Regions from separate parts of the Homo sapiens genome. Here regions 2, 3 and 4 are each linked to region 1. The links are contacts of gene promoters, found by promoter capture Hi-C in human tissues and cell types (Jung and others, 2019). All regions are on one chromosome and are shown on one strand. Each heading gives the region's core, a stretch centred on a gene start or on the middle of the fragment in contact. The rest is flanking DNA. Distances are from core to core; before and after follow the strand shown. Region 1 holds the start of TMEM17 (transmembrane protein 17). Region 2 has its middle 70 kb from the start of EHBP1. Region 3 has its middle 43 kb from the start of EHBP1. Region 4 has its middle 6.5 kb from the start of EHBP1.

Region 1 (3,136 bases), core at 374-2,873:
AAGGGAGTGTCATCATCTAGAAAGTGGTGCGATAAGATGCACAGCTAGTGCTGCCCTGTGACTCTAACTCCTTCAAAAGTCCGCCTGTGGCAAACGCGGCTACCCTCCCAAGCCAAGATAAAGTATAATTGGAGTGCCGAGGCTAAAAAATATACCAGTGGGACTGGTCGAATGAGGCACTTAAAAATTGTGTACAGCAGGTTAAGGCATGGATTTTTTAAAGGAATGCCACCTAAACCCAAGAGGACAGCTGCTGCAGCATCCAGTTCATCTTAAGAATTTCAGGCCAGGTACGGTGGCTCACACCTGTAATCCCAGCACTTTGGGAGGCCAAGGCGGGTGGATCACTTGAGGTCAGGAGTTCGAGACCAGCCTGGCCAACATGGCGAAACCCTGTCTCTACTAAAAATACAATAATTAGCCGAGTGTGGTGGCGGGCACCTGTAATCCCAGCCACTCGGTAGGCTGAGGCAGGAGAATCACTTGAACCCAGGAGGCGGAGGTTGCAGTGAGCCGAGATTGTGCCATTGCACTCCAGCCTGGGTGACAGAGCAAGATTCTGTCTAAAAAAAAAAAAAAAAAAAAAAATTTTAGATTAGTCACACAATAAATGTTCTGATTTAAAAAAAAAAAGGCAAAACTCTCCTTTGCTGTTAGAATTCAGGAAAGGTCAGTTATGAGTGAGGAGTGGGTTTAGTGACTGAAAGGAAATAGGAAGGGGGAGTTTCTGGGAATATTGTAAAGTTTCTTGAACAGGGTGCTGATTACACATACAGATTTCAGTCTATGTATATATATTACACTTATTTCTTAAGTAATATATATTACTTACAAAAGGTGTACAATTTTTCTGTATGTGTATTACACTTAGTTTTTTTTAAGTAATATATCTTGAGAGAAAGCTAGAAAATAAGACGTTTAAAAATTTTTGAATCACCTACAATCCCACTATCCAGTGAAAACGACTGTTAACATTTTGGACTTTTTTCCAGTTCTTTTTTTCAAGCCAGTGTGCACACGCTCTCTCCTCCCCTCCACTCATACACATAAATTTTGCTAAATTAGGTTCATTCTCATTTAGTTTTATTTCTGCTGTATTTTTACATAAAGTTAAACTATACCATTCAATATCCTTTGCAAGCATTTTATAAGCAGCTGAAACATACTCCATTGAATGTATGTGCTCCAGTACATTTAATCAGTTGCCCATTGCTGTTTTCTTATTAAAAAATAATCAGTCACATGATGTCTCTCTCTCTCACACACACCCCTACACCTCTAGACATTCTTTAAGCTCTGCATTCGTTCTCTATTTCTCTCCAGAAAGGTTGTACCGATTTACAGTTCCACTGGCAAATGTGAGGGCTCCTTGTATCGCAGTCCAACCCCAGCTCATTTCTTAGTATAGGTTTGTTTTTAGGATGGTCGAGCTCAAAGCAGAACTAAGGGATCTGCCGTTTTGTACACGGCCGAGGCGCGCGGCTCCCTGGGCCTGGAACGCGCTCTGAGCGCGCCGGTCCCTTCCAGGTTGCGCGGGCTCCGGACGAGACCCAGCCCAGCCGGGCAGCCCCGCGCGCTCCCGGGTCCCGCCGGCCTCGCGCCGCCCGGTTGCCGTGGGAACCACGGAGCCTCGGAGCGCCCGCAGACTAGCCCGTGTCTGAGGGGGTGAGGGATACTGAGGCCCAGGCATGGAGCTGCCGGATCCGGTGCGCCAGCGGCTGGGAAACTTCAGCCGGGCCGTGTTCAGTGATTCCAATCGGACCGGTCCAGAGTCCAATGAGGGTCCGGGTGAGTGACCGAGGCCCGGTGCAGGGGGTGTGGCCTGCCGAGGGCTTGGCGTGGATTTTGGAGCGTCCAGAATTTGCCCGTACCTAAAATGGCGATGTCGCCTTCAGCCAGTTCTCCGCAGTGCGGGAGAGCGCCTTGGAGGAGGGGCCGGGCCGGACAGGGAGCTGAGGCGCTGGCGGCCTCCCGCCCCCGGCCGGGCCTGGTCTCCGCGTGGTGCTCCCTGGCCAGCTTGTTGCAAGCGCGGCAGCTGACGTGGGGCCGATCTCTGTGCCGCGCAAGGCCCATCATTGTCCCGGAGAAACCCCAAAAATAAAAAGATAAAAGCCGCCCTTGCTGCACAGGCTGGTCCCCCGCGCGCCGCGAGAGCGAAGGCCCAAGTTGTTTTGCCTCTGCGGCGCCCGCCCCGGCTTTTCTGTCCAGGATGACGAGGAATAGCCCAAGCAATCCCACCTCCCCCGTCCCCACCCCCACCCCAGGGAACAAATTTGCCTTTTCCCTTTTCCTAGCAGAACAAGTATGTTCCTAAGCAAGGCCATTTTCTCGTAGAAGACATTAAAAAAAAAAGTTAATGAGTCCTTTCAAACCACCATCCACTCCCACTGGCATGTGCCATACTAGCCGGGCGTTCAACAAAACTCACCCCTTCCCTGCCTTCTCCTCCTCCCCTATATGTAACTCTTATCATAAGGTAACAAAATACCATGATGCTTCTGCGTCCTTTAACTTGATGTCAAGTGATAACACAGTTTCCTCCAGAACAGTTTCCTCCTCCTACATCATGATGGTAGACAACACACTGTCAACCAAACCCATGTGGTTTTCATCATTCAACTCTGCTGGGAAATATCAATCTTTTCCTCTGCTTGGTTTTAGAGAATTTTTAAAAGGGACAGAGAAAAGTAAAGGCAGTTCCCAAAGCTGCATTTTGTCACCTTGATCACTTGCCTATTTCCCAAATGTAGGCCTTTATGATTTAGGATGTACAGAGAAAAATGTGAAAAAAATAGGTTTTCACGTTTCTGGTTCCAAGGATGAGGCTTAATGAGCACTAACGTCTGATAATACAAGGTAAAAAGACGTTTTCTGAAAAGGACCAGATAGTAAATATTTTAGACTTTGTAGGCCATATGGTCTCCACGGCAGCCATTGACAATAGTTATTGAATAGGCAGGGCTGTGTTCCAATAAAACTTTATGGACACTGAAATTTGTATTTCATATGGATTTCACGTGTGGAAAAAATATTACTTTTTTAACCATTTAAACGTGAAAAAACATTTTTAGCTCATTGACTGTACAAAAACAGGCAGCTGGCCAGTTGTTTACCTATCCCTGATTTATATTGTATG
Region 2 (3,361 bases), core at 197-2,696, 130 kb before region 1:
GGCCTTTTCTGCATCTATTGAGATAATCATGAAGTTATTGTCATTGGTTCTACTTATGTGATGGATTACGTTTATTAATTTGCACATGTTGAATGAGCCGTGCATCCCCGGGATGAAGCCAACTTGATCTTGTTGGATAAGCTTTTTGATGTGCTGCTGGATTCAGTTTGCCAGTATTTTACTGATGATTTTCGTATCGATGGTCATCAGGGATATTGGCCTGAAATTTTCTTTTTTTGTTGTGTCTCTTCCAGGTTTGGTATCGGGATGATGTTGGCCTCATAAAATGAGTTAGGGAGGAGTCCCTCTTTTTCTATTGTTTGGAATAGTTTCAGAAGGAATGGTATCAACTCTTCTTTGTACGTCTGGTAGAATTTGGCTGTGAATCCATCTGGTCCTTGGCTTTTTTTGGTTGGTAGGCTATTAATTATTGCTTCAATTTCAGAACTTGTTATTGGTCTATTCAGGCATTCAATTTCTTCCTGGTTTAGTCTTGGGAGGGTGTATGTGTCCAGGAATGTATCAATTTCTTCTAGATTTTTGGTTTATTTGTGTAGAGGTATTCATAGCATTCTCTGATGGTAGTTTGTATTTCTGTGGGATCAGTGGTGATATCCCCTTTCTCATTTTTTATTGTATCTATTTGATTCTTCTCTCTTTTCTTCTTTATTTGTCTGGCTAGTGGTCCATCTATTTTGTTGATCTCTTCAAAAAACCAGCTCCTGGATTCATTGATTTTTTGAAGGGTTGTTCATGTCTCTATCTCCTTCAGTTCTGCTCTGATCTTTGTTATTTCTTGTCTTCTGCTATCTTTCGAATTTGTTTGCTCTTGGTTCTCTAGTTCTTTTAATTGTGATGTTAGGGTGTTGATTTTAGATCTTTCCCGCTTTCTCTGGTGGGCATTTAGTGCTACAAATTTCTCTCTAAACACTGCTTTGGCTGTGTCCCAGAGATTCTGGTACATTGTGTCTTTGTTCCTATTGGTTCAAATAACTTATTTATTTATGCCTTAATTTTGTTATTTACCCGGTAGTCATTCAAGAGCAGGTTGTTCAGTTTCCATGTAGTTGTGCAGTTTTGAGTGACCTTCTTAATCCTGAATTCTAATTTGATTGCAGTGTGGTCCGAGAGACTGTTTGTTATGATTTCCATTCTTTTGCATTTGCTGAGGAGTGTATTACTTCCAGTTGTGTGGTCAATTTTAGAGTAAGTGTTATGTGGTGCTGATAAGAATGTATATTCTGTTGATTTGGGATGGAGAGTTCTATAGATGTCGATTAGGTCTGCTTGGTCCAGAGCTGAGTTCAAGTCCTGAATATCCTTGTTAATTTTCTGTCTCATTGATCTAATATTGACAGTGAGGTGTTAAAGTCTCCCATCATTATTGTGCGAGAGTCTAAGACTCTTTGTAGGTCTCTAAGAACTTGCTTTATGAATCTGGATGCCACCGTATTGGATGAATATATATTTAGGATAGTTAGCTCTTCTTGTTGCATTGATCCCTTTACCATTATGTAATGCCCTTCTTTGTCTCTTTTGATCTTTGTTGGTTTAAAGTCTGTTCTATCAGAGATTAGGATTGCAATCCCTGCTTTTTTTTTTCTTTCGATTTGCTTGGTAAATATTCCTCCGTCCCTTTATTTTGAGCCTATGTGTGTCTTTGCATGTGAGATGGGTCTACTGAATACAGCATGGTAATGGGTCTTGACTCTTTATCCAATTTGCCAGTCTGTGTCTTTTAATTGCAGCATTTAGCCCATTTACATTTAAGGTTAATATTTTTATGTGTGAATTTGACTCTGTCGTTACGATGCTAGCTGGTTATTTTGCCCACTAGTTGATGCAGTTACTTCATAGTGTTGATGATCTTTACAATTTGGCATGTTTTTACAGTGGCTGGGACCGGTTTCTCTTTTCCATATTTAGTGCTTCCTTCAGGAGCTCTTGTAAGGCAGGCCTGGTGGTGACAAAATCTCTTAGCATTTGCTTGTCTGTAAAGGATTTCATTTCTCCTTCGCTTACGAAGCTTAGTTTGGCTGGATATGAAATTCTGGGTTGAAAATTTTTTTAAGAATGTGGAATATTGGCCCCCACTCCCTTCTGGCTTGTAGGGTTTCTGCTGAGAGATCTGCTGTTAGTCTGATGTGCTTCCCTTTGTGAGTAACCTGACCTTTCTCTCTGGCTGCCCTAAACCTTTTCTTCCTTTATTTCAACCTTCATGAATCTGACAATTATGTGTCTCAGGGTTGCTCTTCTTGAGGAGTATCTTTGTGGTGTTCTCTGTATTTCCTGAATTTGAATGTTGGTCTGCCTTGCTTCGTTGGGGAAGTTCTCCTGGATAATATCCTGAAGAGCATTTTCCAACTTGACTCTATTCTCCCCGTCACTTTCAAGTATACTAATCAGACGTAGGTTTGGTCTTTTCACATAGTCCCATATTTCTTGGAGGCTTTGTTTGTTTCTTTTCATTCTTTTTTCTCTACTCTTGGTTTCACACTTTATTTCATTAAGTTGATCTTCAAACTCCAATATCCTTTCTTCCACTTGATCGATTTGGCTACTGGTACTTGTGTATGCTTCACAAAGTTCTCATGCTGTGTTTTTCAGCTCCATCAGGTCATTTATGTTCTTCTCTAAACTGGTTATTCAGTTAGCAATTCCTCTAACCTTTTTTCAGGTTCGTAGTTTCCTTGCATTGGGTTAGAACATGCTTCTTCAGCTTGGAGGAATTTATTACCCACCTTCTGAAGCCTACTTCTGTCAATTAGTCAAACTCATTATCCGTCCAGTTTTGTCCCTTTGCTGGTGAGGAGTTGTGATCCTTTGGAGGAGAATAGGTATTCTGGTTTTTGGAATTTTCAGACTTTTTGCACTGGTTTCTCCCCATCTTCGTAGATTTATCTACCTTTGGTCTTTGATGTTGGTGACCTTTGGATGGGGTTTCTGAGTGAACGTTCTTTTTGTTGATGTTGATGCTATTCCTTTCTGTTTGTTAGTTTTCCTTCTAACAGGCCCCTCCTCTGCAGGTCTGCTGGAGCTTGCTGGAGGGCTACTCTAGACCCTGTTTTCCTGGGTATCACTAGCGGAGGCTGCAGAACAGCAAAGATTGCTTCCTGTTCTTCCTCTGGAAGGTTTGTCCCAGAGGGACACCCACCAGATGCTAGCCAGAGCTCTCCTGTATGAGGTGTCTCTCAACCCCTCTGGGAGGTGCCCCCCAGTGAGGAGGCACAGGGTTCAGGGACCCACTTGAGGTGGCAGTCTGTCCTTTAGCAGAGCTCAAGTGCTGTGCTGGGAGATCCTCCACTCTCTTCAGAGCTGGCAGGCAGGAATGTTTAATTCTGCTGAAGCTGCGCCCACAGCC
Region 3 (3,149 bases), core at 461-2,960, 160 kb before region 1:
TTTTCTTGCAGCATTGCACTGCAGAGGAAGAAGGAGGCAAAGTTTGTGAGTGTCAGCTTCCTGAACACTTTGACAATAAGAGCAAAAAGAAAATGATCAAGAAACTATAAGCAGAAGGTTCCTCCTCATCACAGCATTTCAGGAATAAAAAGAAAAAGATTTACTAAAATTAGCCACAGTGTTAAACCCTAAAGCAGAAAGCTTTAAATAAGGCAAATGGTCTAAATGCAGAGCTTCAGGCAACTTTATCAACTTCATGTTATACATCATAGCTAGCAAATTAATTATTCCCAGATGTTGGGATGAAGAATGCTGCTGAATTGTTTTGCTTCTCCAACTTTTCAGTATAAACACACACTCACAGGGTTACATTCCCTTTTTTGGCTCCCAACATGCAAGTAATTATACACTGTGCAGGATAATGTTGGATGAGCTCTCAAATGAATACCAAGCAAGTTCTGGGTTCTGTCAGCCTTTTGGATACCATGTCCACAAGCATTTTTTTCTGACAGTCTTTAGTAACAACTTGTAAACAAACTGTTTCTAGTTAAAAAAAATATTCAACAGCAGTACAACCTCATTTATAAATTATTCCAAACTCCTTTAGAGCTGGAGAGGGATAAATTCACCTTAAATATAGTGCAGCTCCTTTTTGCATCAAGAACAGTTTTTCTACAATCCTTGTGAGCAGGGCTCATAATTCATAATAGTTTTTATATTTTTACATTCCTTATGTTTTGCCAACATGTAAACAAAGAGAAGAAAAAAGCAGGTTATGAATCAAGTGTGAATTGAGAATGTGTTTAGGATTAAACACAGATTCTATGACCATGGCCAGAATGAAGAGAGTAAAGGGTCATATTTTCTAATCCAGCTCCAAAGTTTCATAGGACAAATTTCTGCTGTCAGGTGAGTCATGGAGGGATTTTTTAGGGGGCTACCTGAGGCCTTCACACTTCTTGGAATAAACAAACCTGATGAATTTGTCCTGGGTCGTCATATAATGAGGCACAGGTGTGTGTGTAAAATATAGAAGTGGGGGAGATAAAGACAACACAGGGAAAAACTTAGAAATGGTTAAAGAAAAAAAACACATTTTTTGCAGAAGGGAGAAGTTCTGTAGTTCTGCCAACTGCAACACAAATGACAGGAAAAGTTCAAGGAAAGTTGATATCTAAAAAGAAATAAATAAAAGGAAATTCAATGAGAAACAATATTCAGGTCAGGTCAAAGCCTAGAGAAAAATGCGCATTCAGAAGTGGGCTGCCATCCTGCTTTTTCTGAAGTGAACAGCTGCTGGGTATTGAAACCAGCCCTCACGGTTGGGTCCCTGCCACCATGGCAACACTCTGGTTTCTGAGCTGGAGTGGCCAAGGCACAATGGGGTGGTTCCATGGCCCAGAAGCACTCTAGCTACAGATTAGGTAGGTTGTGTGTGTGTTTTTTCCTTTGTGTATATTTGGGGGACTTTGATTCCTGGGTTTGTGTTCGGCTATTGGAAACTTTTCTAACCTATCATAAGCCCTGACCTAAGCAGCAAATTTTCATGCAAATAGCAGCATGGAAAGGAAGAACTGAGGTGTTCAACAGGCAAATAATGTATTTCCAGTCTCTTTTAAATGATTTCTTACAAATCTCTAGCAGGTTCTGGGCATTTGTAACTGGTCCCTTGCATTGTACCTTTAGGATGTTTTTTAAAATAGTGCTTAGCTTGCTTTTTATATTTTTAGTTTATAATAACACATGATCCTAAAAGGAAAAGCTATCATAATCTTGTAAACTGAAAAAGTTAGCGAATAAAGACTTTGATATTAAAAATATAGCCTATAGCTTATATATTATATATGCAGAGCTCCAATAATTAGCACATTCAACTGTTGAATTCACCATCACGGTTTCATTAGTATTGCAAGCTAAAAATTTTATCTACTAGTTAAGTATAAAGAAAATTCCAAAATAATAACCTCATAATGTAGCATAGTAAGTGATAGCATAGACTTTAGAGCCAAACTGCTTGAGTTCCAATCCTGGCATTTATTAGCTGTGTAATTTTGGGCAAGTTACTTAAACTGTCTATGACTTTATTTCCCCTCTATAGAATGATGACAAGAGTAATACCTTCCTAGTGAAGATGACTGTGAGTATTAAGTGAATTTATATTTGTAAAGTGCTTAAAATAGTGTTTGGTTAGTATCATGTAAGTGCTTAAAAATAAATAAGTAAATACATAAATAATTTAAAATTATTTTTTAAATAATTTAAACCTTTTTTGATAGTGGGAAATGCCACCTTTGGAATTCAGGACAGCACAGTATATTTCTATATCTATATTCCCACTCAGAAAATGTTAAACTTCTTATTTACATCTAAGACTTGTAACTCACTTGGAGTCATGCAAGGCTCCTTGAATTGATAAAGCAGCTTGTTTGTGAATTTAGCCAATTTGTAAGTGAGCAAGGGGGAGGGCTTTGAGAAATATATACTAGATCTTCTGATTCATTTAGATCCTTCAAATGCTTAAGTGTTCATTACAAGCACAAGGCACAGTGCTTGCTAAACTGAGCAAGCACAAGATGCCACCCCATGCTGAGATACCCATCGCTGTACTCTCCTAGCAGTAGCCAAGCAGTCTCAGCCTCCGAGGGATGGAAAGCCCAGCACTTTTTCACCTCCGTAACAGGTTGGGTTGTATCATTTCTAGCATGGCTTGTTCAAGGGCTTTCCATTTCATCCTAGATTTCCACTGGTACTGAAGAGCCCACTCATGTGCTCAGATGCACAATTTTCATGGTATCCATTCATATTAGGCCATGCCATTTCTTACAAAGTGTGGAAATGCATTATCTTCTGTTGTGGGGCTGCCTGAAACTGGCTCTGCTACACAATCCTGTTCTTCTGTTTACACGTCACTAGTTGAGTATGTGAAGACATTTTGTGGTTAGGTGTCAATGGTTGCAAAATGCTTTCACAAATCTTGTTAGGATATTTGGGTGCATTCCAAACAAATATGCTATTCCACTACCCAGAGGATCTATAACTTTTTGGAATCCAGTCTAGCTGGAGCTAAGAGGTTAACATTTTAGCCATTGTTTTCAAATTGAGTCACATATGTTCAGTTCTAAGAACAAGGATTAGAAGTCATTCTGGGA
Region 4 (3,258 bases), core at 559-3,058, 190 kb before region 1:
CCAATGGAGTAGCCATGAGCCACTTGGAACTACTGGACATGCAAAATGTGGCTAGTGTCACTGAAGAAGTTGAGTTTTAATATTATTTAATTTTAATTTATTTATTGGCTACATGTGGCTGGTAGCTACCATAATGGACAGTGCAAACTTACATAGTACTGTGGAGGTTCTGGATGCCCAACACAATTTCCAGACACCCAGAGGGGTACAGAGGCACTGCACAGCCACCAGACCAAAAGAGTCCTTGCTGATGATCCAAAATCAACCCAGCAACAATCCATGGAGCTGGCTGCTAATGAAGATGAATATTAGAACTCTAAGAGGAGCCAGCATAGTAGATGAGAAGCAAGGATTAAATGCCCCATCCCCTTCCCCCAACATAGTGATGCTATGTAAGCCCCCTCAATTGAGATGCAGTTCCTGCCAAATTGACTATGATTAAGTGTTTGCCACCCCTTGTGAAATCAAAGCTTGAAATAGAAATTAGGTTGAGTAATGGGAAAATAAAACTGTGTTTCTTGCCAACCTGAATTTCTTTAGATTGAGATTTATGCCTGTTATATAACCTTAAATAATAACTCTTAATAAAATAATTTAAAACCTATGTTTATTCTCTTAAAAGGTGGCCTTTTTTTTTTACTCTATCATTATAGGACCCAAGTTCTTTGGTTGACATAAAAGCTTAGAAAAGCTGCATTAGAAAACCATCTTTCAATTAGGAACAGTATTCTTTGGTGAAATTGTTTCTGTTGCAGTTACCCATGAACGAATATTTGAAGTTAGTCATAATGAAGCTTTGCACATTGAACCTAAGATTGCACTAATTCTAGGACCTCAGTTGTATACTAAAAATACAATTTTGTCCAGCTCCACAGCATCTAGAAAAGACCAACATGGGCTTGGTTGCTAGAGGCAGAGGAGCATTCTTGACTTCCTTGAAACTCAGGTAGAGACTGAAGCAAATCTACAGATTCTATCCACTGGTGATTCGGCAGGACTAACTTCTGTTGTTAATCTGGAGCAACACAGTGAATGACTAGAAGCTTAGAAATCTTTATATTGCAGGCAACAATGATATTCAAAGTGTGGACATTCAGTGTGTTAACAACATGGCATAGGCATTGATCAGTTAGAATGGATGACAACTGTAAACGTTGGCCTAGTTGTCCCTTTGTGGACTAACTAAATACCAGCCCTAACTCTAGAGTGCCCTTGCTGGTCTATAGCATCCTCTCAATCTAAGCCTTCTAACTACTTAAGATACTTTCATAATGGTGAAGTCCCAGTCCACAAATGTGTATGTCAAGGTAAAAGCAGCTAGCTGAGATAATTTACATATTGCAAATAAGTGGGCCATTACTGGGATTATAGCAGCAAAGATTTGAGTTGGAATTAAGACCTCAGCTGAGAAAGTCATTGCTAAATTCAATAAATTCATCTCCTATAAAATCAGCAGGGATTCTTGACCAAGACTTACTGGTCATTTCCCATGAAATGTTAAGAGCCTTTGGCAAATTATAAGGGGTAGACTGACCTTTGCTTCACTTCTTCTGTGTTTTCAAAAACTGGAAAAAAAATCCAGGTAACCAGATACAGCATCCAGCCAGTGTTTTCCTCTGAATAATTCATAGATGATTATATTTGTATGAGCAAGATAATATAATTAATATCATTCTGAAATAATAAGGCTAGACAGGAAAGGCAAAGAAAAGCTGGTAGAAATTCATAATCTTGGAGGGCATTGACTACAACCCTTGTGGTGTAAAACCAAAGCACTTCCATCCCATACAGTACAAAGAACACACACACAAAAAGCAAAATTTCAAAGCAAGCTGAAAGCAGGCAAAACTCCACTTACCAGGGCACTGGGCATGAGCCAAGGGAAAGTAGCCCTGTTGCTGAAGCTTGTCCCAGATGAGTAGAGCTGGAAAATAAACCCAGCTTTCAAAGGGCAGGATTAACTCATGCACAGTTTGGGCAATCTTCTGGGCAGGGCAAGATAGAGAAAAATTCCAGGGCAAGGGCAATAACATGAGAGCCAGAGAGAGCTGCAATATTGTTCCAGGCCTCTCTTTTCACAGCAAGTCACCCAATTAGTGACTGGGCTTACAGTGATCAGAACGTAGCCTGGGAAGCAAAGATGACTTTGTGAGAGCCGCTGGATATTTCTTCATATTCTGTCACAACTTTTGGATGCTATTTTAAAATATTCCCAATAATGCATCATTGATCTCTTTCTCCAAGAAAAGAAATTCAAGTGTTGAGCAAGTCAGGTTTTTGTGCCATAGTTCAATCTTCCGAAGAAATCCTGCTATCTTTAAAATTTTAAAAATCACAATATTTTATCCCTGAAATAAGTTGAGTCTGTTTTAGATATTGAACATAGTACTGAGTTACCTATATTGAGAGAGCCCCTTGAAACAACTGTCTTGCATTATCAGTGTCCCATTTCTCATTTCAAAAATGTGTGAGCACCTGCTAACCAGCATACTTCAGTGTGGAAAAGGAGAGTGTTATACTTGTGCATGTTTCTTCACATAACACATGCTAAAAAGAGCATATTTAAAGGTCACAACTTGATTATATTTGAAATATTCACTCTTTTCTTGAACAATTAAAGCAAGAATAGGAGGCATATTGTTAACTGTTCAACTTCTCTTATTCTTGTAATAACACTCTTTCTAGCTATTCACAAAACTACCTTGTGCCAATCAGTTTGTTTGCCATGTGTCTTGTCCAGCCTACAGCTGAACAAGATAACAATTACCAAAATCCTGCAGTGACTTGTCAGTGATAAAAAGACCAACTTGTTGAGTACTTCTCTCTAACACATATAGAGCTGTAACATGAAATTGCTGCACAGCGTGTATAATGGGACCTGGTCTTCAACATTGTATGCTATGGATGTATGCCCAAGAATGTTACTGGATCAGTTTTGCCAATAGTTCATTCTGTTTTCTCTTATTAATTTCCCTTAATAATATCTTATTAACTTTCAGTTGACTTTGCAAGTTCTAAGGCAACAGGTTCAAGAGTACAACTTTGAATGATAGCTTTTTCATTTTGATTTTCTTTGATGATATTTTTAGTGAAAAATCTGTTAATTTATTAAGAAATATTCAGTGAATAATTATTAAGGTCAAAGCATTCTGGTAGGTATTGGGAATGCAGCACATAAAAAAGACAAAATCCCTGTCCTCCTGGAGCTCATATTTCTCTTCTATTAGAAGTCATTGTTTAGTATTTCCCTTAGAAAAT

What was found. The method cuts DNA at HindIII sites, captures the fragments that hold promoters and counts their contacts. A contact is called where the count stands out against the background at its distance.
Region 2: a contact is called between a fragment that was not itself captured here and the fragment with the promoter of TMEM17 in region 1, in 1 of the 25 tissues and cell types used here (H1 embryonic stem cells).
Region 3: a fragment that was not itself captured here is called in contact with the fragment with the promoter of TMEM17 in region 1 in 2 of the 25 tissues and cell types used here (adrenal gland and hippocampus).
Region 4: a fragment that was not itself captured here is called in contact with the fragment with the promoter of TMEM17 in region 1 in 2 of the 25 tissues and cell types used here (H1 embryonic stem cells and liver).

The regions. Positions count from the first base shown.
Region 1 is chr2:62,504,682-62,507,817 of GRCh38, reverse strand. TMEM17 (transmembrane protein 17) reads left to right here and starts at 1,623. Exons shown (of 4, transcript NM_198276.3): 1 at 1,623-1,788. The coding sequence starts at 1,689. It also overlaps the pseudogene RPL37P13. RefSeq lists silencers at 1,443-1,712, 1,923-2,092, 2,430-2,724. The HindIII fragment of the contact is 10,369 bases long and covers 1-2,489 here.
Region 2 is chr2:62,633,838-62,637,198 of GRCh38, reverse strand. No RefSeq gene overlaps it. Among named protein-coding and RNA genes, the nearest start is that of EHBP1, 70 kb to the left of the region's middle. The HindIII fragment of the contact is 4,331 bases long and covers 1-3,361 here.
Region 3 is chr2:62,660,883-62,664,031 of GRCh38, reverse strand. No RefSeq gene overlaps it. Among named protein-coding and RNA genes, the nearest start is that of EHBP1, 43 kb to the left of the region's middle. RefSeq lists an enhancer at 1,400-1,449. The HindIII fragment of the contact is 6,067 bases long and covers 1-3,149 here.
Region 4 is chr2:62,697,550-62,700,807 of GRCh38, reverse strand. It overlaps a transcript of EHBP1 not described here. Among named protein-coding and RNA genes, the nearest start is that of EHBP1, 6.5 kb to the left of the region's middle. The HindIII fragment of the contact is 3,479 bases long and covers 69-3,258 here.